Regions from separate parts of the Homo sapiens genome. Here all the other regions are linked to region 2. Evidence: promoter capture Hi-C in 16 types of primary human blood cells and fetal thymus (Javierre and others, 2016). All regions are on one chromosome and are shown on one strand. Each heading gives the region's core, a stretch centred on a gene start or on the middle of the fragment in contact. The rest is flanking DNA. Distances are from core to core; before and after follow the strand shown.

What was found. The method cuts DNA at HindIII sites, captures the fragments that hold promoters and counts their contacts. A CHiCAGO score of 5 or more calls a contact.
Region 1: a fragment that was not itself captured here is called in contact with the fragment with the promoter of VEGFA in region 2 in 1 of 17 cell types (M1 macrophages); the score reaches 5.3 in M1 macrophages.
Region 3: a fragment that was not itself captured here is called in contact with the fragment with the promoter of VEGFA in region 2 in 7 of 17 cell types (megakaryocytes, erythroblasts, monocytes and 4 more); the score reaches 8.8 in megakaryocytes.
Region 4: a fragment that was not itself captured here is called in contact with the fragment with the promoter of VEGFA in region 2 in 6 of 17 cell types (erythroblasts, monocytes, megakaryocytes and 3 more); the score reaches 8.1 in erythroblasts.

What each region holds. Positions count from the first base shown.
Region 1 is chr6:43,911,025-43,918,087 of GRCh38, forward strand. The region is part of intron 1 of LINC01512 (long intergenic non-protein coding RNA 1512); the gene reads left to right. Among named protein-coding and RNA genes, the nearest start is that of LINC01512, 24 kb to the left of the region's middle. RefSeq lists enhancers at 1-497, 498-1,060, 2,134-2,923. The HindIII fragment of the contact is 3,164 bases long and covers 1,911-5,074 here.
Region 2 is chr6:43,768,590-43,774,913 of GRCh38, forward strand. VEGFA (vascular endothelial growth factor A) reads left to right here and starts at 1,622. Exons shown (of 8, transcript NM_003376.6): 1 at 1,622-2,723; 2 at 5,752-5,803. The coding sequence starts at 2,118. RefSeq lists silencers at 1,435-1,684, 2,062-3,001, 3,072-3,591 and enhancers at 2,047-2,812, 2,813-3,578, 3,579-4,344, 4,345-5,110, 6,163-6,324. The HindIII fragment of the contact is 11,673 bases long and covers 1-6,324 here.
Region 3 is chr6:43,977,384-43,984,215 of GRCh38, forward strand. No RefSeq gene overlaps it. Among named protein-coding and RNA genes, the nearest start is that of LINC03040, 20 kb to the right of the region's middle. RefSeq lists an enhancer at 154-413. The HindIII fragment of the contact is 2,539 bases long and covers 2,454-4,992 here.
Region 4 is chr6:43,926,426-43,933,430 of GRCh38, forward strand. All of the region lies in intron 1 of LINC01512 (long intergenic non-protein coding RNA 1512), which reads left to right. Among named protein-coding and RNA genes, the nearest start is that of LINC01512, 39 kb to the left of the region's middle. The HindIII fragment of the contact is 7,713 bases long and covers 1,780-7,005 here.

The DNA.
Region 1 (7,063 bases), core at 2,243-4,742, 140 kb after region 2:
CCCCCAAACCCCTCCCTTTCTCTGGAGTCCCACCTAGGGTTAACCACTGGCTACACTCCCAGGGAGGCCCCAAAAGCTGCCAGATTATGCCCTTTAAGAGATGAGAAAATGGCTTGACCAAAAAAGTTAATGTTTGTAAACACCAGTTTAAGGAGAGAAGGGATTTCAAAGCCTCCGCAGCCTGCTGCTCCACACCTCTGAGCATCTGGGAATCTCAGCCCGGGGCTGTGCACACAGTAGGAGCTACATCGGCAGCACTCTAGGGAATGGGGTCTGACAAGTGGTGGGGGGTACAGGGAGCCAGCCCCAGAATTCAGAGGTAATGCAGACCCTCTTCACGTTTGAGGACCCTGCCTGCATCACTTCCAGCCCAGAGGTTCTTAGCTTCGTCATCTGCTGGGGGTGAGGGACCACCAGTTTAGGGAGCCCCCTGCAGAGGCCCCCTGGATTGTCCCTTCTTTTCCCTCCTTGGCCTTCCTCCCAGCTTGGTCTCCCCACCACCCCCAACACTCCCCAGACACATTCCTCTCCTTCAGACTTTCGTTTCAAGGGCTTGGTGATTTCTTTGCAGGATTTGATTTGCCGCTCAGGCATTTCCTTGAGTGGCCCCTCGGTGTTTGCCCTCATCCAGATGGCATCCAGATGCAAACATCCCCCCTCCCCCAGCTCCGGCTCCTCAGCTAGGGGAATTGAATCTTGACCCCCACCTCACACCCACCTCCCTGCATCATCAGCTTTGTTTCTGGGATCTGAGGTCAGGGCATGGACTAACACCTCTGCCTGTGGCTCTCTCCAAAGCCCGACTTCTGGCCATCCTATGATCTGCCTCCCTCCTCCGCCTTTGTTCAATTCAGCAGGTAATTGCTTCACAGCCAAAGCAAATGTCAGGATGATAATGAGGGAGATATGATGCAGTTCTGGCCTAGGCAGGGAGGGGGAAGAGCAGGGTGTGTGCTTGTGTTGAGGGAGCAGGTGCTGAGGGCCCTGATCTCCAGCTGAGGTCCTAAGAGATGACCAAATCCAGGTGAGGGAACTGAGGAGAGCAGATGATAACCATGCTAATAGTTACAGAACAAGGTCCATGTGCAATAACAACGTAAAGACCAGTTCATTTAGTCCTGTGAGCTGGGCCTCCTTATTCCCATTTTACAGATGAGGAAACTGAGGCCCAGAATGGAGAGAAAAAAACGACCAGAGCAAGCACCTGTATAATAAATTCTCTGTTCCAGGCACGACATAAAGATCAGCTAACTTAACAAGGCGTTCTTTGGAACACCTTGAGAGCTGGACACTCTTGTCCCCATTTTATAGATAAGTTAACTGAGGTTCAGAGAGGCTTAGTAACTCATGCAAGACTCTGTGGCTTCTTAAATGGCAGAACTTGGCTCCAAACCAAAGGCTTCCAAGGCCCATGGCGCTTCTTGTGTGCCCCGATTTGCTCAGCATCAGGGCCAGACCTTCAGGAGCTGTCCCCAGAGCCCTATCCTGACATGGTGACCATCGCCCTGATGGGAAATGTCTCAAGGAACCTGGGGAACAGTCCTGGGTGAGAATCCCTGTGCCTGGGGGAACCTCACTGTTTCTCAGAGGTCAGGCTCCAGGCCTCTTAACTCTCTGTCCAGTGCTGGACTCTTGACCCAGGGCAGGACTCGCTCTTGCGAGGCCCTTGCTGACCTCTGCTCAAACCCTCTGCTTCCCCTTCAAAGTTAATATTTACATACTCTCTGCCATGCCTCTGTGATGCTGCCATAGATATCAAAGTGCTTCCTGACCCCAGAGACACCCCAGGGCCCCCAAAACCCCTCCTAGGCTCCATGCTCCATGCAGGGCCCATCGACCCTCAGGCGGCCAGAATGATGGGCAGCATGCTGTGGCCAGATGGACTGTACTCTCTTCACCGCGCACCGTCAAGCTTCCTTGACAGAAAATGGGGCATTTGGCCCAGGCTCAAAGCTGCAGTGTAGGCATTTCCTAGAACCACTGGGCATTGGACCCCAGAAGTGTGTGATGAGTCGGGGCCAAGGGTCAGGCTGTCCCAGCTCTGTGCCTCAGGCAGCTGTGGGGGTGGCCTCCAGCAGGCCCTGCCTGGTAGTACCTGGTGGGCCTGAGGTGTGTGCGTAGAGCCATCCAGGCCCACGGGAGGAACATCCACCTGTCTGGACTCACAGCCCAGAGAACAACAGAGCTGGGCATGTAGGGCAAGTTAGGGGCAGGGCTGGAACTTCTCACCAGCCCGCCTCTCCCCAGTACCTCCTCCAGGTGTCCTCCCAGCGTGCTAAGAGGTGGATGCCAGCATTGGCCAGACCCCCTCCTCTCCCCGCTCCCTTCCCTCTGTCTTCCGTCCTTCTGGCTCTAAGTGAGCTCAGCTTTGCAGTAGAAGGGAAACCTGAGGAACTAAGGATTTCTGAGCTGGGCTCCTCCCCCAGAGGGTCAGAGGGGCTGTTTTCAGCTGGGAGCTGGGGTGACTTGGAACCCCAGAGAGCTTCAGGGAAGACCCCAGGCTGAGCAGGAGAGAGGAGCATCCCTGCAGCTGGCAGTCTGGAAGGGCTGGCTGGCCTAGGTCCTTGGGGCTGGGGTCCTCAGGTGGGTGCCTGTTTGCTTTCTGAAGAATTCCTGCAGGAAGCATGTGGGTAAGTGTCTGAGAATTTCAGTGATGGTCAGAGGGAGAGGACACTGCTACCAGCCACATGTTGGTGGCCAGGTGGCCTGGGAAGGGACACCGTGGCTGGCACACCAGGCCCTGCAGGTTAATGTTTGACCTGGAGCCACGTGTTTTTCCACTGGGTATTTTTATCCTCTGTACCTGGCAGTGGGCAGCTGGAGGGAGGGAGGTACCCAGCTAGTGTCTCACTGGGCAAGACAAGGCTGCAGAGAGGCCAGAGGGGCCAGCTGAGGGATGCAGAACAGGGGATTGAAAGAACAGGAGGGAGTCCCTGGAGCAGGCCGACTCCCCACACCTCAGCTACACTCCCAGCCCTACTCTGATGCCACCCCATCCCTGGCTCTCCTCTCTCTGTTAGGACTAGCAGTGGTGAGGAGATGAAGAAGATAGGGAGGAAAACCAAGAGATCTTCTCAGGGGTCCACAGCTTCTCAGGAAAGTTAAAAATGTCCCCTCCTCTCCCCATATTATCTCATTGGTAATGAATCACTCTCAGATCCTGTGCATCACGAGTTAGAGATTTCCTCCTTCTGCAGACACTGCAGTCTTACTCTGATTGTGGGAGTAAGTCACAGCTAACTGAGGTACCCTCTACCCCTACCTGCACCCCCAGGGCCAATCTGATGAGGGAACACAGCCCTGCTCCCAGAAAATCCCCAGTCTAAGAGGGTAGGGGCTGTGTCTCAACTCACAACAAGAGCTTTGCCCCTTTGCATCCAAGAGGCCTGGAATTGAATTGAAACACCCACTGGGTCCATAAGCTCCGGAATCCCAAGCCCTCCCCATCTCTCTGTTTTCCTCCTCGGCAAGTAGGGAGTCTTGCCTGAGCTGACTTTGTGAGGCTCTTTACAGCCCAGTGGGCAGAGTCCTTCTCACTCATCATGGGGGGACAGGGGAGGGAGGTCCTCGAAGGCCACTTAACAGGGCCAGCTGATGCCATGGTGCCAGTCGAGCAAAGCCAGCTTCCTTCCTGCACCCCCACAAGGTCCAGATGGTCTTTGAAGTTACACTTGAGTCCAGTAGTAAGTGGGTCTCTGAGCAAACCTGCCTACGAGCTGACACCACCAGATCACCAGTGGCTTCCCAGCCCCAACACTCACCAGAGCTGGATCTGAAGCAGGCTCGGCGGCTGCCCACAGCCCATGGTATTTCTTAGGGCTCCCTGAGAGTCCTGCAGCGGGAGGAGCAAGGCTGTCTAGGGGAAATCAGTTCCCTCTGAGCAAGGGGCTTCCTGGGATTGGCAAACGAGAGGCCCCAGGACAAAGGGGGATGGGCATCTGCCAGAAGAGCCTAGATCTCCAGGGAGGCCTCCCAGTTCTCTGGCAGTGCCCCCAGGATTGCCCTAAAGTGGGGTGCAGGAGCAGGGCAGGCGAGCGGGAGACTGTCAGCCTGGGCACATGGAGGAGGGCCCACTTCTTGGTCTGGAGCAGGACCACAGATCATCTCCTGATGTGGAGATCAGTCTTTCCCACTAGGGGACTTAGCTCCCCACTCTCAGCCTGCCTTCCTGCGGGTCTTCCCTTTCCTGTGCACCCTAAACCCCCAGCCACCTCTCTATTCCCCAGTACATGCCAGGCACTGGGCTAGGGCCATTTGCCTCCCCCACTCCTCCAAACCTTGGTGGTGAATCTCTTCACCCTCATTTTACAGATGAGGAAGCTGAATAGAAGTATCATTAAATAATTAACCCAAGGTCACCCAGCCAGTCAGCGGCCTGGCTGGGATTAAACCTAAATCGGTCTGACTCCAAGTCCAGCTGAGAGATCATATCAGCCATGTATCCTGTGTCTTTTAAATCCCACACTTCCCCCTCTCCCAGAACCCTGACCATCAGCCAGACCAGAAAGTCTAATATAACTGGCTCCTACAACCCACCGGTTCATATGTCCCACCATCAGGATGCCCTCCTGGCATCCGAGCTCACACCTCCTGCTGTCTTTTACCCTGATATCAGGGAAAGAGTGGAGCAAAGATGGTTCCCCCACCCTGCCCCACGTCCTGTTTCTGTGTCCCATGGGACTGTGGCATTTCTCTGTGGCTCTGCAGGGTGGGTTGCTCCTGGCTGCGAAGCCAGAGTCTCAAACACTTGGGAAGGAGGGGGCTCTGAGGTTTTGCTGGGAGAGACAGGTGTTCTCTTGGGCCGCCTCACAGAGGAGACTTGGGCCTTGCCTTCAGACCCTACCATTTCCTACTGAGTCCAGGACAGGTGAGGAGAGAGACAGAAAGAAGGTGGGGACTTTGGAGACCTTCAGAGGGTCCTTAGCTTCTGATGCTGTTTTGTTCTTTGGGACAAGTTGAGGTCATGCCTCTTGGACACCAAGAAGTCCTGGGGTTTGGAAATCCCCACATGGCCCTCACACCCTTGTTGCCCTCAGACCTTTAGTTGTGGAAGAAACTGAGTGGAAAGGACACAAGCTTGCATCCATTCCCTGAAATCAAGGAGTTCAGTTCCTCATCTGGGTGAAGAGGAAAGGGGAATTCCAAAGACTCGGCTCCAGTGCCCTGGTGTTGAACCCAGATCTTCCATTTCTTAGAAGCCTGCTGTTTTCTGGTAGAGCCTTCTGACCTCTGGCTTCTGGCTGAGTTTGGCAGGTGGATCAATTAAACCCCAGTGTTTGGAGAGGGGGTTGAAGGGACACAGTTTGGCTCCTACAGCTCCCTGACTCAGGAGATTGGAACAGAGAAAGCCTCTTGACCCTGAGCCCATCAAAGCTCCTCTCTCAGGTTTGCCTTTTCCTGCCCCTCACAGCCCTCCTCTTCTCGAGAAGGCCAACCGTCCCACCACCGCTGTGGGAAGAGGGGCAGCGTGGGCTGGGCTATCAACTGGGGCGTCTCCTATCTGTATCCTCAAAGCTTTCTGAGTCTCCTGCACTCCCTGTCCAATGGACATGGGTTTTCTCCCTGGGCTGGGCCCAGGAGAGATTCAGAATAGGAGCCAACAGAGGCCCTGAACTCAAGATCCTGCCGTCAGAATGCAGACACAGTCATGCCCATGGATTCCAGGCCAGCATTAGTGCCAAAGAGAGTAATCATAATAGCTAAGTTTCCTTGAACACTTCCAAAATGGGCACTTTATATCCATTAACATGTTTAATCCTCGAAACCACCCTGGGAAATTGGTGCTATCATATCTGCATTTTACAGATAAGGAAGCTGTGGCTCAGAGCAGCCAGTAACAGGCCCAAGGTCTTACAGCAAGGAAGTAGCAGGAGCAGGATCTATCCCAGAGCCTGTACTCTTACCTTCTTCACCTGTGCCATTCAATACAGTGGCCGCTAAAAGCATGTGACTATTTAACTTTGAATTCATTAAAGTTCAATGCAGTTACAGTTCAGTTCCTCACTGCACTAGCCACCTTTCAAGTGCTCAGCAGCCACATGTGGCTAGAGACTGTCACATTGGACAATACAGATATTAAATGTCTCTATCATTGCAGAATGTTCTATTAGTCAACACTGGTCTACAGCCTACTGCCTCTCAAGAATAGAGATGGGGCAATGGAAAATCATCCTTCAGTTAGTAGACTAAAATAATAATTAACAATAATGATACCAATGGCTACAATTTACCAAGAGCTTCCTCTGCGCCAGGCACAGTGCCAAGCCCATAATCCTTACCCAATCCTAGGTTCAGGAAGGTAACCCAGGGTCACAGTAGCTAGGAATTGAATCCAGGTTTGTGTGGCCTCAGAGTCCAGTCCACTGGCCCTCGCCCTCCTGCCCCACCCCCTGCCCGGTCCCCAGCAGTTTATAGTCCCTGGGGGAAGGAGGGGAAGGCAAGTGCGCTGTATTTCACAAGACCAGGGATTAAATAAATCAGCACGTAATTAACATCATCACATTTCCCCAAGCCCGCTGACCAGAACATTGTGCTAATGAGGTCAAGGTCTTGATGTTGAGCCCTGTGAACATCACATCACTTCACTTCATGGGAGAAAGGCTGGCTCCCTGCCCTGAGGGCAGCCCCCCACACTGTGATTGGGAAATAGGGAGAGTGTGGATGTTGCAGCACAGCCTGTGGCCTGCTCTGAGGCTTAGCGTAGTAGAGGGTCGGGCGTCCGGCCAAGAAGAATCCTATTAAACGCTATGGGGATGTGTCTTCTGGACAACTGGGAATCTAGAAAGGATGGGGTTAGCAGAAAGCAAAGCCTGAGTGTGAAGAAAAGATGCAGCAGAAGATAGAACAGAACTTCTGAGACTTGCTTCCTCTTAGTTGGGTAAAGCCTTTTGGGCAACATGGGGACATACAGGAATTTTTGAGGGCTTGGCTTGGGTGGGGAGATCTGCCTTTAGTATCCTGTAAGGATTGCACTATTTGGCGGAAAGTTAGCCCAGTTGCATGTCAATCCCACATGGCCTCTGGGGAGATAAGGCCTGGGGAGAGGCTAGAGCAGGCTGTTTGG
Region 2 (6,324 bases), core at 372-2,871:
CATTCCCATTCTCAGTCCATGCCTCCACAGAGGCTATGCCAGCTGTAGGCCAGACCCTGGCAAGATCTGGGTGGATAATCAGACTGACTGGTCCCACTCTTCCCACAGGCCTCAGAGCCCCAACTTTGTTCCCTGGGGCAGCCTGGAAATAGCCAGGTCAGAAACCAGCTAGGAATTTTTCCAAGCTGCTTCCTATATGCAAGAATGGGATGGGGCCTTTGGGAGCACTTAGGGAAGATGTGGAGAGTTGGAGGAAAAGGGGGCTTGGAGGTAAGGGAGGGGACTGGGGGAAGGATAGGGGAGAAGCTGTGAGCCTGGAGAAGTAGCCAAGGGATCCTGAGGGAATGGGGGAGCTGAGACGAAACCCCCATTTCTATTCAGAAGATGAGCTATGAGTCTGGGCTTGGGCTGATAGAAGCCTTGGCCCCTGGCCTGGTGGGAGCTCTGGGCAGCTGGCCTACAGACGTTCCTTAGTGCTGGCGGGTAGGTTTGAATCATCACGCAGGCCCTGGCCTCCACCCGCCCCCACCAGCCCCCTGGCCTCAGTTCCCTGGCAACATCTGGGGTTGGGGGGGCAGCAGGAACAAGGGCCTCTGTCTGCCCAGCTGCCTCCCCCTTTGGGTTTTGCCAGACTCCACAGTGCATACGTGGGCTCCAACAGGTCCTCTTCCCTCCCAGTCACTGACTAACCCCGGAACCACACAGCTTCCCGTTCTCAGCTCCACAAACTTGGTGCCAAATTCTTCTCCCCTGGGAAGCATCCCTGGACACTTCCCAAAGGACCCCAGTCACTCCAGCCTGTTGGCTGCCGCTCACTTTGATGTCTGCAGGCCAGATGAGGGCTCCAGATGGCACATTGTCAGAGGGACACACTGTGGCCCCTGTGCCCAGCCCTGGGCTCTCTGTACATGAAGCAACTCCAGTCCCAAATATGTAGCTGTTTGGGAGGTCAGAAATAGGGGGTCCAGGAGCAAACTCCCCCCACCCCCTTTCCAAAGCCCATTCCCTCTTTAGCCAGAGCCGGGGTGTGCAGACGGCAGTCACTAGGGGGCGCTCGGCCACCACAGGGAAGCTGGGTGAATGGAGCGAGCAGCGTCTTCGAGAGTGAGGACGTGTGTGTCTGTGTGGGTGAGTGAGTGTGTGCGTGTGGGGTTGAGGGCGTTGGAGCGGGGAGAAGGCCAGGGGTCACTCCAGGATTCCAATAGATCTGTGTGTCCCTCTCCCCACCCGTCCCTGTCCGGCTCTCCGCCTTCCCCTGCCCCCTTCAATATTCCTAGCAAAGAGGGAACGGCTCTCAGGCCCTGTCCGCACGTAACCTCACTTTCCTGCTCCCTCCTCGCCAATGCCCCGCGGGCGCGTGTCTCTGGACAGAGTTTCCGGGGGCGGATGGGTAATTTTCAGGCTGTGAACCTTGGTGGGGGTCGAGCTTCCCCTTCATTGCGGCGGGCTGCGGGCCAGGCTTCACTGAGCGTCCGCAGAGCCCGGGCCCGAGCCGCGTGTGGAAGGGCTGAGGCTCGCCTGTCCCCGCCCCCCGGGGCGGGCCGGGGGCGGGGTCCCGGCGGGGCGGAGCCATGCGCCCCCCCCTTTTTTTTTTAAAAGTCGGCTGGTAGCGGGGAGGATCGCGGAGGCTTGGGGCAGCCGGGTAGCTCGGAGGTCGTGGCGCTGGGGGCTAGCACCAGCGCTCTGTCGGGAGGCGCAGCGGTTAGGTGGACCGGTCAGCGGACTCACCGGCCAGGGCGCTCGGTGCTGGAATTTGATATTCATTGATCCGGGTTTTATCCCTCTTCTTTTTTCTTAAACATTTTTTTTTAAAACTGTATTGTTTCTCGTTTTAATTTATTTTTGCTTGCCATTCCCCACTTGAATCGGGCCGACGGCTTGGGGAGATTGCTCTACTTCCCCAAATCACTGTGGATTTTGGAAACCAGCAGAAAGAGGAAAGAGGTAGCAAGAGCTCCAGAGAGAAGTCGAGGAAGAGAGAGACGGGGTCAGAGAGAGCGCGCGGGCGTGCGAGCAGCGAAAGCGACAGGGGCAAAGTGAGTGACCTGCTTTTGGGGGTGACCGCCGGAGCGCGGCGTGAGCCCTCCCCCTTGGGATCCCGCAGCTGACCAGTCGCGCTGACGGACAGACAGACAGACACCGCCCCCAGCCCCAGCTACCACCTCCTCCCCGGCCGGCGGCGGACAGTGGACGCGGCGGCGAGCCGCGGGCAGGGGCCGGAGCCCGCGCCCGGAGGCGGGGTGGAGGGGGTCGGGGCTCGCGGCGTCGCACTGAAACTTTTCGTCCAACTTCTGGGCTGTTCTCGCTTCGGAGGAGCCGTGGTCCGCGCGGGGGAAGCCGAGCCGAGCGGAGCCGCGAGAAGTGCTAGCTCGGGCCGGGAGGAGCCGCAGCCGGAGGAGGGGGAGGAGGAAGAAGAGAAGGAAGAGGAGAGGGGGCCGCAGTGGCGACTCGGCGCTCGGAAGCCGGGCTCATGGACGGGTGAGGCGGCGGTGTGCGCAGACAGTGCTCCAGCCGCGCGCGCTCCCCAGGCCCTGGCCCGGGCCTCGGGCCGGGGAGGAAGAGTAGCTCGCCGAGGCGCCGAGGAGAGCGGGCCGCCCCACAGCCCGAGCCGGAGAGGGAGCGCGAGCCGCGCCGGCCCCGGTCGGGCCTCCGAAACCATGAACTTTCTGCTGTCTTGGGTGCATTGGAGCCTTGCCTTGCTGCTCTACCTCCACCATGCCAAGGTAAGCGGTCGTGCCCTGCTGGCGCCGCGGGCCGCTGCGAGCGCCTCTCCCGGCTGGGGACGTGCGTGCGAGCGCGCGCGTGGGGGCTCCGTGCCCCACGCGGGTCCATGGGCACCAGGCGTGCGGCGTCCCCCTCTGTCGTCTTAGGTGCAGGGGGAGGGGGCGCGCGCGCTAGGTGGGAGGGTACCCGGAGAGAGGCTCACCGCCCACGCGGGCCCTGCCCACCCACCGGAGTCACCGCACGTACGATCTGGGCCGACCAGCCGAGGGCGGGAGCCGGAGGAGGAGGCCGAGGGGGCTGGGCTTGCGTTGCCGCTGCCGGCTGAAGTTTGCTCCCGGCCGCTGGTCCCGGACGAACTGGAAGTCTGAGCAGCGGGGGCGGGAGCCAGAGACCAGTGGGCAGGGGGTGCTCGGACCTTGGACCGCGGGAGGGCAGAGAGCGTGGAGGGGGCAGGGCGCAGGAGGGAGAGGGGGCTTGCTGTCACTGCCACTCGGTCTCTTCAGCCCTCGCCGCGAGTTTGGGAAAAGTTTTGGGGTGGATTGCTGCGGGGACCCCCCCTCCCTGCTGGGCCACCTGCGCCGCGCCAACCCCGCCCGTCCCCGCTCGCGTCCCGCTCGGTGCCCGCCCTCCCCCGCCCGGCCGGGTGCGCGCGGCGCGGAGCCGATTACATCAGCCCGGGCCTGGCCGGCCGCGTGTTCCCGGAGCCTCGGCTGCCCGAATGGGGAGCCCAGAGTGGCGAGCGGCACCCCTCCCCCCGCCAGCCCTCCGCGGGAAGGTGACCTCTCGAGGTAGCCCCAGCCCGGGGATCCAGAGAACCATCCCTACCCCTTCCTACTGTCTCCAGACCCTACCTCTGCCCAGTGCTAGGAGGAATTTCCTGACGCCCCTTCTCTTCACCCATTTCCTTTTTAGCCTGGAGAGAAGCCCCTGTCACCCCGCTTATTTTCATTTCTCTCTGCGGAGAAGATCCATCTAACCCCTTTCTGGCCCCAGAGTCCAGGGAAAGGATGATCACTGTCAGAAGTCGTGGCGCGGGAGCCCACTGGGCGCTTTGTCACATTCCACCGAAAGTCCCGACTTGGTGACAGTGTGCTTCCCTTCCCTCGCCAACAGTTCCGAGTGAGCTGTGCTTTAGCTCTCGTGGGGGTGGGTCAAGGGAGGATTTGAAGAGTCATTGCCCCACTTTACCCTTTTGGAGAAATGGCTTGAAATTTGCTGTGACACGGGCAGCATGGGAATAGTCCTTCCTGAACCCTGGAAAGGAGCTCCTGCCAGCCTTGCACACACTTTGTCCTGGTGAAAGGCAGCCCTGGAGCAGGTGTTTTTTTGGAACTCCAAACCTGCCCACCCAACTTGCTTCTGAAAGGGACTCTAAAGGGTCCCTTTCCGCTCCTCTCTGACGCCTTCCCTCAGCCAGAATTCCCTTGGAGAGGAGGCAAGAGGAAAGCCATGGACAGGGGTCGCTGCTAACACCGCAAGTTCCTCAGACCCTGGCACAAAGGCCTTGGCTACAGGCCTCCAAGTAGGGAGGAGGGGGAGGAGTGGCTGCCTGGCCACAGTGTGACCTTCAGAGGCCCCCAGAGAAGGACACCTGGCCCCTGCCTGCCTAGAACCGCCCCTCCTGTGCTCCCTGGCCTTGGAAGGGGTATGAAATTTCCGTCCCCTTTCCTCCTTGGGGCCCAGGAGGAGTGGAGGGTCCCGGGAGAATATTGTCAGGGGGAAGGCAGGGGGTGTCATGGGAATGGGTGAGGGGGCTGAGGTGCAGAATCCAGGGGGTCCCTGCAGGAGCCGCAGTGGTAAGCTGTCCAGCTGGAAGCCTGGTAACTGTTGTTTTCTCTTGAGAGGGGCTTCCTGTGACCTTGGCTGTCTCTGGGAGCAGGGCTGGGGTACCTGAGTGGGGTGCATTTGGGGTGTGTGGGAAGGAGAGGGAAAGAAAGATGGACAGTGGGACTCTCCCCTAGCAGGGTCTGGTGTTCCGTAGGCTAGAGTGCCCCTCTGCTCTGCGAGTGCTGGGCGGGAGGGGAGTTGGTGAGAGCTGGAGACCCCCAGGAAGGGCTGGCAGAAGCCTTTCCTTTTGGGTGCTGTCAGGTCCGCATGTCTTGGCGTGTTGACCTTCACAGCTTCTGGCGAGGGGAGGAATGATCTGATGCGGGTGGGGAGGGTTAGAGGAGGCCTCAGGCCTAAGGTGGTGCAGGGGGCCCCCTAGGGGCTGGGCAGTGCCAAGGCATAAAAGCCTTCCCTGGTCCCTGGTGGCATTTGAAGGTGCCCAGGTGAGAGGGGCTTGGCACCTCCTCACCCTGGGAGGGAGAAGAAACCAGGGAACAGGTAGGAGTGGGAGACAGGTGAGGCTTTGGAAATCTATTGAGGCTCTGGAGAGATTTGTGTAGAGAGGAAAATGTGGTTCTCCCCCAGGGTCTCCTCCTGGGTTTTTACCCTCTAAGCAACCTGTGGGCATGCTGGGTTATTCCTAAGGACTAGAAGAGCTTGGATGGGGGAGGGTGGTTGGTGCCCTTCGGTCCTCGGCACCCCCCTCCGTCTCCAACACCAGCTCACCCTGGTATTTGTCATGTCAGCAGGAGAAGGTCACCATGTTGTTTTTCTCGCCCCTAGTCCTTCCTTCCTGCCCCAGTCCAAATTTGTCCTCCTATTTGACCTTAATACTTACCATGGCTTTGGACCAGGGAACTAGGGGGATAGTGAGAGCAGGGAGAGGGAAGTGTGGGGAAGGTACAGGGGACCTCGACAGTGAAGCATTCTGGGGTTTTCCTCCTGCATTTCGAGCTCCCCAGCCCCCAACATCTGGTTAGTCTTTAACTTCCTCGGGTTCATAACCATAGCAGTCCAGGAGTGGTGGGCATATTCTGTGCCCGTGGGGACCCCCGGTTGTGTCCTGTTCGACTCAGAAGACTTGGAGAAGCCAGAGGCTGTTGGTGGGAGGGAAGTGAGGAGGGAGGAGGGGCTGGGTGGCTGGGCCTGTGCACCCCAGCCCCTGCCCATGCCCATGCCTTGCTCTCTTTCTGTCCTCAGTGGTCCCAGGCTGCACCCATGGCAGAAGGAGGAGGGCAGAATCATCACGAAGGTGAGTCCCCCTGGCTGTTGGATGGGGTTCCCTGTCCTCTCAGGGGATGGGTGGATGGCCTAATTCCTTTTTCTTCAGAACTGTGGGGAGGAAGGGGAAGGGGCACAGGAATATAAGGATCAAGAAAGAAAGAGCTGGGCACCACGAGGTTCACCCTCAGTTTCGTGAGGACTCTCCGCTGTTCAGGTCTCTGCTAGAAGTAGGACTTGTTGCCTTTTTCTTCTGCTCTTTCCAGTAAAATTTTATTTGGAGAAGGAGTCGTGCGCACAGAGCAGGAAGACAGTGTTCAGGGATCCTAGGTGTTGGGGGAAGTGTCCCTTGTTTCCCCTAGCTCCCAGGGGAGAGTGGACATTTAGTGTCATTTCCTATATAGACATGTCCCATTTGTGGGAACTGTGACCCTTCCTGTGTGAGCTGGAGGCACAGAGGGCTCAGCCTAATGGGATCTCTCCTCCCTTCCCTGGTTTGCATTCCTTTGGGGGTGGAGAAAACCCCATTTGACTATGTTCGGGTGCTGTGAA
Region 3 (6,832 bases), core at 2,473-4,972, 210 kb after region 2:
TTGCTAGGTGCCTGCCCTTAACTGCACTCACCCCCAAACTGCTGCTTTCAGCAGATCCATCCAAATGTTGTCTCCCCCAGACACCCAAATCCGGGTCCACAAACCCCAGCCATCCACCAGGGGAGCATCAAGAGCACACAAGACAACTCCTCCTGGACTAAAGTTTCAATATCGAGAACTGGCTCTGAGGAAGTGTGCTGACCACAGGCATGGCTCATTCGCAGTTATGGGCAGGACTTTGGTCCCAAAGATATCTCATGTCACTGTGCACTCGGAATCTGCTATTCTGGAAAGCCCCCCAGCCTAAACCACAGCAGAGCATGCGATGACAGCGAGTGTGGTGACAAGTTAGCAGAGTGGGAAGTGAAACGCGGCCATAGGCTGGTCCTTGCCCTGCCTGGCCTCGAGGGAGACCTGATTGAGTCCCTGATCCCTCTTGGGCCAAAGTCTCCTCACATAGCTGAGGGGGGATGCACACTTAGTGAGATAAGAGGTTGATATCTGGTTAGATCTGGTTAGAAAGTACAAGAGGGTGGAGAAAGTGACATCTGGTTAGAAGGTGTGAGAAGGTGGAAGGGGCTAAGAGGGTGGCCAGGGAGAACCCTGCCCAGGGTTGAATGGGAGGGCCCACATTGAGGGCTGATCTTCCCCACCTAGTCCACTCAGACTCACATGTTAATCTCCTCTGGAAACGCCCTCATAGACACACCCAAGAATAATGCCTCACCAGATTTCTAGGTACTTCTTAGTCCAGTCAAATGGACATGTAAAATAAAGCATCACACCATAGACACTTTCTTCAAACCCTTGGGGGTCAGCTATTAGTTCCAGAGGTACAACTGGAAAGGTCTCACAGGGAGACAGACCCAGGGTGGATTCCAGGGGCTTCCCTTGCTCCAGGCCTCTGCAAATGGATGCCTTGGGAAGGGCATGAGTGAGCCTCACAGCAGCAGGGAGGGCTCAGCCTGTTCATCTCTGAGGTCCTCCCACCTGGGTTTCTGTGGCTCTACGAAGGTTTTAGCCCATATCTGCCCCACACGCGTACCTCCCAGGCAGGCCTTCCCTCCATCCTTATCTTCTCTTTCCTTCCTTCTCATTCACTCAGCACACCTTGAGAGAAGCACAGGGATTGGGGCAGTCAGTGTGGGGAGTGTGTAGAGCAAGTTACACAGAAGAGTAGGAAGAACTCAGAATGGAGATGATGAGGCTGAAGGCCAAGGTTCCTCTTAGGCTCCAGCCAGAAGCTGGGCTTGCCAGAAATTGATGCTTCTGGAGAAGGAGGAGGTGCTGATGACTCAGTGCCAGCCTGAAAGTCATGAAGGACGGGGGAACCAGCGTTTCCTCATACCCCAAAGGTCAGAAGGATGCATGGCTATACCTGTAGTGGGTTCAGGCTATAGTCCCCGGTCAATCTAGCTTCCCACCCTTGTGTGTCCCTGGGTCCTGGCTGTAAGCTAACTGAGCAGAGTTTCCCGCACAGCAGCCCTGCTGTCCCACTAGCATCAGAAGAGGAAAGCAGGACTGTCTAAGAAGCCCTGTCTGTGGCGGTGTCCACAGGGGGCGTCTGCATGGGCTCCTCACTCCTGCATGAGCCCCGAGTAGAACAGTCTCTGAGCTTGTACTGCCTGCAGAAAGAATCGGAGGAGGCCAGTCTCTGCTCCTGAAGTTATGCATCAGGGAATGAGCAAGGCTGGGTGGGTCCTGTGAGTGAGAGGATGTGCTTGCACAAGGGACCAGCGTAAAATATGCTACTTATTTGGAGCACCAGCCTTGAGGTACACCCTGAGGCGTCAAGGTCTGGGGAGGTGCTCACATCTGGTAGAGTCTGCGCAGGCCAGTGAGGCAAATATCAGGTCATCACTATTTTGGGTTTCTGTGCAGGAAGGGAGCCAGCCGCGACCTGTGCTTTCATCATAGAAGGATAGAGAGCTTCCTTCTGTAGCCCAAGTTCCTACTCACCTCCCATCCTGGCACCCCCAAATTGGACTCTTTCAGAACAGAGGCCTCTGTCTTAGCCTAGTTTCCCCTAAAAGTGGAACCTGTGGGAGCTTTGGTCTCAGGGGCAACTAAGCTGATTTGGGAAGTGATCCCAGGAACAGGATCAAAAGATGAGGGTGAGGAAAGAGTGAACAGGGTGTCAACCAATACAAGGATATGTTATCTAGTTGGCCACCCCTGTGATGGGTGTTGACCCCACAGAGATCTATTTAAGAGACTTATGAAATGTGTTTCAAAACAGTCTACCCAGAAGGGCAAAAAGGGATCCTTTGGCTCCTGTATCCCCCATTGCACAAAGGTGACTCCAGGGGAGTCCCTTCTGGTGTGCACTACTTAAGCGCTAAGCAGTTCCACAGGTGTCCACCCGTAGGACATCAGAGAAGTCTCTGGCAGGAAGTAGGAGGTTCTAGGCCAAGGCAAAGTGCCATTTAATTGCACCTTTGCAGAGCCCACGAAGCTTGCATGGAGCTGGCCTCTAAAGCAGAGGTCAGAGTAAGCGATGGGCACAGAGAAATTTGGACCAAAGTGTCCAGTAAAGGTCCTTTCTTTGTGCCTTCACCAAGCCATCAGCAGCATCAGCAGCGTGTTACAGGGCCAGCTTTTCAGAGTATGAAAAATATTTTCATAGAGTCAGAGAAAGCTCGGAGGTGGGACGTCATGGTGGGAGTCAGCAAATTCCAAGTACCTAGCAAGGTTTCAGAGCTCTGCTCTGCTTTGTCCAGCCTCAGGACCAGTCTGCCTTCTCTCCTTAAGTGCTTCCCTAGCCAGGGGGCCGGGAGCCAGAATGAAGCAAAGGCCACTCAGCCTGAAACTGCAGCCAGACCTCTCCCTGAAGAGCCTCCCTGCGCCCAGCCCTGCTGAGCCCTCTCTCCGCACACATTTCTTTCCTGCCCAGCCGGCCTCAGTTCATTTCTCAAGCGGCGCATGTGGGCTCCTCCACTTTCTCCCTGTTCAATGTCTTAGCTCCACTTTTTCCTGGGCTGCACCCCAGCCCCCTCCTGCATGCCCACCCACCCCCAGACATTGGCGCTGGCTTTCCAGGCCCCCTGTTGCTTGGCCCTTTCCAAGCCTGTTTGGGACCCAGCCCAAATCAGCAATTACAAGTACCCACTTTTCCTTCTCACTCACACAAGGTAGCCATTGTCCACTGTACAAGGGAGAACCATCTGTGCTCATGTTGCAGTAAAAAAGGTTGTTTACCCAGGGTCGTCAGCACAGCCTTCATGCTGTGTCCTCCCCACTGCATGGCAAGTGCAGGCCAAACACGTGTGGGCCTCATGGGCCCACAGGTTAGGTGCAGAGGACAGACATGCAAGGCCTGGAACAGACACAAGATGGGCACAGAATGGGGATGCAGGCTTAGAACAGATACACGGGCAGCTACCACTTGAGGCCTTAGCAGGTATGGTCCTTTCTCAGCTGTGAGTTCCCTCTGCTCAGGCCCTTAGATGGATGCTCCCTCCATTCCTCCTTCCTACCTCCTCACTTAATCCTTACTATAAGGCCAGGAGAGTGGTTCACGCCTGTAATCCCATACTCTGGGAGGCCAAGATGGAAAGACTGCTTAAGGCCAGGAGTGTGAGACCAGCCTAGGCAACATAGTGAGACCCTGTCTCTAAAAAAATTAAAATTAGCCAGGCATGGTGGTGCGTACCTACAGTCTCAGCTACTTGCTTAGGCAGGAGGATCACTTGAGCCCAAGTTTGAGGCTGCAGTGAGCTATGATCTATGATCATACCACTATAGAGCAAGACCCTGATTCTAAAAAAAAAAAAGTTCACAACCCTCTGCCCTCCAAGGTGGGTCTTACGATCCCATTTAATAGACAAGGATATAGGGGCTCAGAGATGTTCCTTAACTTACCCAAGGGGAGAGAGGAAGAAGGAAGGATGCAACAAGGTACCTATAGAGAACCCCAGGATAGCAGAGCTGGGAGAGCTAGACCTGAAGAAGTTTCTATTCTTCTTTATGGGAGAGGGGACAGTGAGTTGGTTAGGTTGTGTGGAGAATTCCTCACTGAGCTGGAACTTGGGGATTTGGCTCCAGGCAGGTGGGGCCAGCCAGAAGGGTTGCCCTGAGGGGCAGTTGGTGACCTATGAAACACTCTCCCCTCCGCATTAGGGAAGGGAGATTTTCAGCCAGGACACCCCTGCCCTGGAGACAGGGATATGTGCAAGACACCTCCTGGGGGCATAGCTGCCCATATCTGGCTTCCCCACAGCCATGATCACCCTGGTGGGCTCCTGGGTGGGGAAGGGATTGGCAGGAGGATCACTTGCAAGGGAAGTCAGAGCTGTTTCCAACATTCACAGCAGTGTCCCAAGGCCCAGAAGCCCCCAGAAGGAGCCAAAGAGACTTAGTCCCCACAGGGCAAAGGTAACCCAGGGAGCCTGGGTGGGCCTGAGTGACCACCCATGGGCAGGCCGGGCATTTTTGTTCTTGGGAAACCCTGTAACTGAGATCCTGGGGGTCCAAAGGGACCTCCAGGGTCACGTCTCTCACAGCCCAGGCCCTGCCCTGAGGACATGGGTCGCAGTGAGAAGGCCCTCCCCTGTACAACCCCCAGGCCAGTTGCCAGAACAGCAGGGTGAATATGGTATCAAGAGGTCAGGCTCAAGCCTACACTGTCCAGCCTCCCTAGCCCTTCAAGATAGCCCAGGCCACAGAAACACCAAACCAGCAAACTTGGGAAAGGCCATTGTCCTCTGCAATGGAGCTTGAATCAGCATTATCCTCTCCAGTGTTGATACCTCATAGCCTTCTCTGTCCTCTGCAAAAGGCTGAACACCAGAACATTCCAGAGCAGGACACAAGCATCTGCCGCCCTTGTTATGCCTCCTGCAGCCCAGGCCTGGCTGCCCTGCATGGCCTTGACATCTTCTGACATCTCTGGGCAGCATCTGTAACAGGATGTTTCACCAGCAGCCTCTTCACCCAGCTGACCTTGATGGGGGGCACATGGAGAGAGAGGAGACTGCCAGCCACCCCAGACAAAGCTTGCTGGTTCTGCCCCTACACTCTGCCCAGGCTCTACAAGCCTGAGCCAGAGTGGAAACTGGTTGGAGGCTGGAAAGTTTGGAGGAAAGCTTTCTGATGGGAGGTGATGGGGAGAGCAGCTGAGAAGGGGCTGGTCATGGTCTCCCTGGGTGTCAAAATTCTAGAATCAGTGAATCCCTGCAGCTCAAGACCTTGTGCCTACAGTGTCTGAGATGTGTGTTGCTCCATACGCCCTGGGGAACCAGCTTCTAGGTAAGCTCTCAGAAATCCCACAGTGTTGGAGTCACAAGACCTCTGAGATACAGCCCTCCAAGTTTTCTATGGCTGCAAAACAAACTATTCCCAAACATAGTGCCTTAAAACAATAATGGCTTAATTTCTCACAATTCTGGTGGTAGTCCTGGCTGTTCTGCAAGTCTAACCTGGGATTAGGCCACTTAATCAGCTGCATTCAGCTGGAAGGTCCAGGGTGGCCTCAATGGCAACTCTGAAGCCTCCGTGCCATCAACCGGCTTCCGTGTGCCTCCTCTTAGTGCCTGATCCTCCAGAGTCTCTCTCTCCAGCAGAATAGCCTGGACTTCCTTACAGCACGGTGCCTGGCTTGGAGGAAGAGGAGACAGGGAGGGAAGGCAGTCAGGCCTCTCTAGGGTTGAGCCTGGGACTGGCACAGCATCATTGCATTTTTTTCAGTCAAAGCAAGTCATAAGGCCAAGCCAGAATCAAGGAGAGGGAAAATAGAAACCAACTCTTGGCAGTAGGAGTAGCAAAGACTCTGTGGACATCTCTCACCCACCTCGGACCTTTATCAGTCTCTGGAGAGTCAGGACAGAGCCAGATTGCCTGACACAGACCTGGAAACTTAGAGATGGATGAAGTCCCCATTCCTGCCCCTGGGACTCTCTGCCCTCAGCCCCCAAACCATGACCTTCCTGAGTCCCTCTGCTCACAGTGACCCTGGAGGCCTGGCCTGGGGGTGGGAAGGGCTGGGATCGGAGCTGCACAGGGTGGTGGGGAGGAATTAGGTCCCTTTTCATACCAACTGTTGAGGCATCTGAACTTGATCTAGGGATGGGACTTTGGCTATGGGATGTGGGGAGAGGGTGCCCCCTCCATGCAGAGGCCCTTCCCACAAAGGCTTGAGCAGAGCCTGAATGTGGACGCAAGGCAGGCTCCACTTAGCTCTCCATGTTCACCTGTCCACAGGTAAGGCTGTGACAGATGAACTGAGGCCACCTGTCCTGGGGAGGCTGGTCCTAAGGGACCCCAGCTCTTCCTCTCCTCTTCCAGGTGATCTCCTGCACAGGTGCCAAGTTCCCACCACACTGAGCTGCATTCAGCAGGCCCAGATGTTGGGCAGCCAAGTCGGTCCCCTGAGGACCCACCCCTCCTGTCTGCTTTCATCTAATTTATTCACTCAACCACTTGACAAATATTTACTCAGCACCCGTAAGATAACAGGCACTGTGTTCGTCGCAGGGGATATATCAAGTGAGCAAAAGAAAAAAAAACCCTATCCTCTTGGAGCTCAGATTCATGAGACGGTGGGAGGGAGTGTGTCTGTAGACAATAAACTAAATAAATCAGTAAATTACGGAGTCTTGTGGCTGCCATAACAAATCACCCACTTGGTGGCTTACGACCAACAGAAATGTGTTCTCTCACAGTTCCGGAGGGCACGCATCTGAGCATCACTGCTATCTCTGCCTCCATGTTCAGGTGGCCTTCTTCCCTCTGTCTCTCTGTGTCTCCTCTTCTCATAAGGACATTAGTAATTGGACTTAGGGCCCACTCTAAATCAAGAGAGCCTCATCTTGAGATACTTAATTATATCCGCAAA
Region 4 (7,005 bases), core at 4,386-6,885, 160 kb after region 2:
GGATGAAGCTGTTGCCCTCCAGCCTGCCGCGCTTCCCGGGGACCTGCAAACGTCCATCCTTTCCTCGGTCGATTCCTCGTCCAGCCTGTGGTCCTTGGGGCTCTGATTTATTCAGCTTGGGAACCAGGCAGCGAGTCTCATGTCTGCCCCAGGCCTCAAAATAGATTATTTTTTTTATTAGCTGTCCCTTGTTAACTCATAATTGCAATCATGTAACATTTAATAGAGGCACAAAGCGATCCCCATCACTGCTCCACAATCATTCATTAGCTAACAAGACAGAGCAGCTCATAAAAAAAAAGCCGTTAAAAAAATTCCGGGGAAATGGAAAGCAGGAGGTGATGCAAGCCCTGGTTAACAAAGGCTGAGGGTTGGGGGGAGGCATGAGAGGGTGTGAGTGGAATAACCCAAGCCTGATAAGCCACAAAGCAGCGCCTGCTGCTCCCTCCTCCCTCTGCCGCCTGAGTCAGAGAAGCCGGGATGTGTTCAAAATCAAGCAATGTAATTAGCAGGTTGCATCATGCCTCTCGATTATAAATTACAATGGCCACAAAGAGGGTGGATGGAGGAGCAGGGATTAGATGGGGTAACCCAATCCCAGTGCCGGGAAGGGGGACAGAGGGCCCGGGAGCTGCCCCCCGCCACTAGGAGCCACTCGGAGTGGCCTCTGTCTACTGTGTCTAGGGACAGCAACAAGGCCTACTCAATACCTGCTTTGTGTAGCCTGGGATAATGATTTACAAACTCAAGGAAATCAGGAGGTGTGAAAAGAAGATAGCCCTCTTAACCCAGCCATTGTCTACCCTCTGCTGGAATGTCCCTCAGCTCCACCCACCTGGTGCACCTGTGCACACGGATGCTGTTTGAGGATGGTCCACGTGAGGAGCCCTCATAGGGGCTGGACTGATAAGATCTAAAAGGGTTGCTGGGCTCGAGGTGTGGCGACACAGTCAGGGATGATTGAGACTCGGCAAACAGGAATACACCTGAGTGATTCCCTGAGCCGTCTCTGTAGTAGGGGAGGATGGGAGCTTGGGCTGATGACAGAGCAAGCTGTCTCCTAGGAGTTGAAGACCTGGTTCCATCCCAAACTTTGCCACTGGGAGGCTGTAGGAGCCTGGCAAGCCATTTCTCCTCTCTGGGCCTCAGCTTCCCCCCTACAACCCAACTGCTGGCTATATGACCCAGGCAAGTTATTTTCCATCTCTGTGTCTCTACTTCCCCACCAGGCCTTGCTACAACTGGTCATGTGACCTGAGACCAGCTCCCCCTCCGCATCCTCAGTTTCTCCATTTACAAGGAGGAAAGTTATCCAGACAATCTTTAAAGTTCAGCTGGGGCCTTCTCTTAGTCTAAGGTGAACTCTGTTTTTCCAAAGACTAACCAACTAGCCAGCTCACCTGGTACCTTGGAGACCAGGGAAATGGGCCTGGCAACCCTGCCCTCTAGCCATCTGCATGAATCAGAGCCCGGTGAAGCAGAGGGGAAGTCAGTCTCAGGCAAATCAAGTCACTGGTGGCACTGCTCCCCGTGAGCCCGTGTAGACACACCCTTTACTTCCTCCTGGTGGAAGATTTGGCCTTTCAGTTTAGCCTTTGCAAACAGCATTTACTTGACAATGTTTTCTTAGCAGCCCTATTCTTGTACACAGGAAATAATCCCATTAACTTTATTATCTCTGCAAAGAAAGGACAAGGATATAGATTTGCCCTTAAGTTCAATGAACTCAGTTCTCTCTTGAAAGGAAAAGCACAGAACTGAGGCAATTGCCTTGTAGGAAGCTTTCTTTGGGTAAGACCTGGCTCTAGTGGAGAGATATTGCAGCTGCCTTTTGAACTGTGGCCCTCAGCTGCTCTGGGGCCCCCAAATCTTCTCTCTGGGCCTCACTTTCATCCCCATCACCACCTCCTCACACCTACATTCTGTTGACTGAGGGACTGGACCAAACTGATGGAGAGAAGTAGGTATTCTCAACAAGCAAGGAGAGGCAGAGGCGATCGGGAGGGAATCCCGACTAGCACTGCCTTCGCTCAGACCCCAGCATTACTCCCTTGGACTACTGTAGAGACCTCCAGTCTTGGCCCCTCAGATCTCTTTGCTCCTTTGCAGCCACAGGACCTTGCTAAAAATTGTGGCTGATCACACTCTTCCCCTGCTTGAACCCCATCAAAGGCACCCCTGTCCAAAAGTCCCAGGGCCTAGTAGGCTCCACAGGCTCCCCAAGCCTGGGCCGTGCTTTTTTCTCCAGCCACTTCCTTCTACTTGCAGCCCAAGCTACCCTGAATCATTGGTCCTTTCCAGCAAACCCCAGGCTATTTCATACCTCCACACCTTTGAGCGAGCTGTTCCCATTGCCCGGACTGCCCTTCCCCTTGTTCACCTGGCCAACTTAGGTTCAGTCTTAGGGGCCGGGCACGGTGGCTCACACCTGTAATCCCAGCACTTTGGGAGGCCAAGGCTGGTGGATCACTTGAGATCAGGAGTTTGAGACCAGCCTGACCAACATGGTGAAACCACGTCTCTACTAAAAATACAAAAACTAGCCGAGTGTGGTGGTGGGCTCCTGCAATCCCAGCTACTCAGGAGGCTGAGGCAGGAGAATCGCTTGAACCCGGGAGGTGGAGGTTGCAGTGAGCCGAGATCGCGCCATTGCACATGGAGGGCAACATGAGCAAAACTCCGTCTCAAAAAAACGAAAAACAAAAAACAACAACAAAAAACAAAACAAAAAGAAAAAACTAAAAGATGCAGCCTAGGAACCTTGCTTTAGTATTAGTATCCCCTCCTCCCAGAACCCCTTCTCCAGGCAGCTCTTCTGTGCCTTCCAACATGAGCAAGCTCTAGCCCAGCAAGTCCTTATGTGCCATGTCCCCCGGAGTCCATGAGCTCCCTGGGGAGGAACTGAGCATCCCATAGTCAAACCCTCACAAACATCTTCTGTGTTGAACTGCTGCCTTTTCCTACAGCAAGCAAGAGGCAGATGTAGCCTGAGGCCTAGGGCTTGGGGTGAAGTCTGGAAAAGTTGCTCATCCATTCATTCACTTATTCATTTGTGTCATCTGAATACATGTAGTGAGGGGAGGGGGCAGGGATGAGCAGGCTGGGAAGGGAAGGACCAGACCTATCAGCTTCGTATACCACCCTGAAGGCACTTATAGGCTCCATGGAAGTCCCTGGCCCTTGGGTGGGTTGGGAGAATATCCCAGAAGCCAGCTCCCAGTGCAAGTTGGCCTCCAGGGTGGACAGACTGCCAGAGCTGGGCTGACGGTGGCACTGGGGGCTGCCTTGTGTGTTTTAGCCCAGCAGGGCCTGCACCTTGCCGACAGCGATCTCCCAGCTGCCTCAGTACAATCAACAGAAGCTGAGTGTGAGGAGGTGGCAGAGAGGGAGCCATGTGAGGCATGTTTTCACGTGTCAGGAGCTCTCAGCATGTCCCCTGTTGGTGAGGGGGCTGTCCTTGTGTCTGCATCACTAAGGAGGTGACCACTTTGCTCTCGTGTCAGGGTGACATTAGATCCCTAAGTTGTGACCTCACTCAGGTATCCGTCCTTGAGTCCCATCTGCCTCTGAGTTAAGAGCCAAAATAACAGCAGAGACATGGCTGCCTGAATACCCTTCTCAGCAATGGCGAGACACAGAACAAGCATGGCTGTCCCATTGGATGGAACAGGAGACCGGGACTCAGGGATATGGACACAGCTACCTGAGGTCACACAGCTCATGTGGGCCTCCTATAGCCTGTGAGGTACACCTTTCCTTCTTCCACCACCCTTAGGGGTGGAGCTGTGCCCCATATTTGGCCTTTACCACATCCCAATGTAGGTGAAAATGTGAATGACAATAATAACTGCATATAGTAGATGCCTACTTTGTACCTGGCACAACTTAAGTACTTTCTTCTCATTCATTCAATCAATAATATTTATTGAGTGCCAGGCACTTTTCTAGGTGCTGAGGATATGGCAGTAAGCAAGGCAAAGTCCCTGCACTCAGGGAGCTCCCATTTTAGTGGGAGACACAGACAATAAACCAAGAAGTGAGTACACAGAAAATAGGCAGGCCGAGGTGCGAGGATGGCTTGAGTCTAGGAGTTCAATGCCAGCCTGGGCAACATAGGGAGACCCCATCCCTACAAAAAATCAAGAAATTAGCTGGGCATGGTGGCACACACCTGTCATCTCAGCTACTCAGGAGGCTGAGGTGGAAGGATCGCTTAAGCTCGGGAGGTTGAGGGAGGAGTGAGCCATGTTCGTGCCACTGCACTTCAGCCTGGGCGACAGAGGGAGGCCCTGTCTCAACAACAACAACAACAACAACAAAACAACAAAACAGAGAAGAAAAGAAAATAGGTGAGGTGGTAAAAAGTAAGTGAAGAGAAAGGGTGGAGAGCGGAAAGCCTCTGATTCAGTGACATTTGGGCAGGCCCCTGAAGGAGACATGGGAGGGGGCATAGGACTATTTGGAGGACAAAAATGACAGGCAGAGGGAATAGTAATTGCAAAAGCCTTGGGACAGGAACGTGCTTGCTGAGTTCAAGGACAGCCAGAGAGCTGCTGTGGCTGGAGCACAGTGAGGAAGGAGCAGAGTGGCACAGTGTAGAAGATGAGGCCTGTGCCAGTCATAGGCCAACTCATTTGACATTACAGCAATGCTGAGTACCAGGCACTCTTGTTATTCTCTAGCTAATGAGGAAATTGAGATACAGAGAAAAGTAATCCACCCAAGGTCACACTCCAGGCATGTGGTTCTATGTTAGCGATTTGGGAGCATCCTTCTTGGCCCAGAGCACTGGTTCCCAGTCCCAGGTATGGATTAGAATCACCCGGGGAACTTACAAAGAATCCAGATGACCAAGTTTCAAATTCTGACAAGCTGCCTAGGTGATTTTGACAGAATCTTTATGACACCAGCTTTGGTGACCCACTGGGGAATGGCTGTAGACAGGCGAGGTTGGAAGAGCAAGCACTTGGCCAGGAGCCTAACTCTAGCTCTGCTCTGATCTCTGAGCCACTGCATTCGCCAGTCCTCTCTGAAGCCCAGTCTCTTCGTTTGTGAAATAAGAGAGTTGAACTCCATCAGTGAACTTCTCGGTTGCTTTTTAGCAGTAAAATCTTTCATTCAATTAGGTACTAAGTGGAGCCCAAAATACGAAAGAGGTCAAAGGAGCTTTATTTTGGGGGAGGAGTGGGATTCAGGCCATCATTCCCTTGGGAACCTCTGAAGCATAATTTTCCAATTCCCTGGAGCTCCGATCTCTGACGACATGCTTCAAGTTCTAGATACCCATATTGGGTCCTTTTTTCCCCCAAAGCAATGTCCCCTGGAATGGCCCAAAGCTCCTGGTGCAAGTCCTATAAATCCTATTCAAGGAGCACTACGAGGAGGCTGCCCAAACCCTGGCTCTGAGTTCTGAGGAGTCCTGGGTGCCTGGTGCCAATGAGGCAGGGGGTTAGGGCTGGGCACACAGTGAGCCTCTTTCAGCTCGCCTGTGTCTTCCACTTGCTGTCCTGGCTGGGGAGGAGGACATGGTGAGCCCCAAGCACTTGGGTTGATCCCTGTTCCAGTGTTAGGAACCTGTACAGGGGTAGCAGCCATCCAGCTGGTGGAGGCAGAAATTTGCTTCCACACCAGCGGGGCCTTTGACATCTTGGTTTTACCCTTTCCTTGTTTTGGAATAGTAAGAATGCCTCTGCCTGACCAGGCCCTTGGAATTGGCAGTTCTTCCACAGCCATCCTCCCGGAGACTCCACCCTAAGGGGAAGAGAAAAATGAGGTTCAGAGAGATCAAGCAACCTGCCTGGGGTCATGTGGCTAAAACTGTGGTGAGACCAGTCCTTGAATCCCAAATCCAGGGCTTCGCCTGCTAGTGCTGAGGTCCTCTTAGGCAAGGGGAGACATGCCCTGGAGAAGACAGCCCCCTGCCCTGACAGAGTCCATACTCTAGGGTGGGAGGTAGGGGGTATCCTCAGGGCCAAGTCAAACTCCTATATGTTCCCTCAACATCCAGTGCGTTCCCCTGCATACAGCAGGTGCTAAATTATTGTGATAATCATGCTTTGGAGTTAGAACTGAAACGAGCTTACAACCTGAGATGCCTTGGACTCTGCTTGGTGTTTTAGTTTCCTCCTCCATAAAATGGGGATAATAATGCTGAACTTCCTGGCCTGGCTGTGACTGGGAAAGGGGCATTGTGAACGGTAAAACAGCCTCGCTTTGACTGCAGGCCCATGACAGTACCGCATAGTAGAAATTGTACTCCCCATTTTATGGAGGAGGAAACTGTTAGTTGGAGAGTGAAACCCAGGTCTAGGGCCAAAGCTCATGCTCCTTCCACTGCACTCTGCTGCTTCCTATTACGGTCCCTGCGCCCAGCATGGTGTTTTTCAGTTTTGTTTTTGTTTTCATTCTAAGTCCCCAAGTGAGACAGGGCGAGATGGAAATGAAGCCCACAGGACCCCTCCCCTGCAGCTGCGAATAGCTTGGGCCCTGGGAAGAACGGGCTGGGTGTGTGCTCTGGGCGTGGAGATGCCCCTTTCTGCCAGCATGTGGAAGTGACATGGATTCCTCGGCATTTCCTCTGTGTGGGGGTGGGCAGTGGTGGTTCATGGAGTCCCCTTTCCCCCAGGATGGATGCTGATTGTCTCTGAAGACTTCACTGGGGTTCACTTTCTGTTCCATGGCCACCCTTGGGTCTGAAGCCTGTCTCCTCCCCAGTACAGGCATGTGGGTGCCCTGGCCACCCACAGCAGGACTGTAGCCTTGGATAGACAGAAGTCCAGGAGTCAAGAGGCTGGGTTTGACCCCAAGGACAGCTGGCTCCTGTGGGGAGACCTTCTCTGGCCCCCAGAAGGAGTCAGCTCAGCCTTAGCCAGGGAAGTGGCCCAAGGGCAGGCCCAGGCCTTGGGTCCCCTGATGTCTGCAGCTGCTCCCAGGACCACCCCATGAGATAGAGGCTACTGAGCCCCGAAGAGACCTGTGGGGCCGCGGCGGGGTGGTATTTTCTCA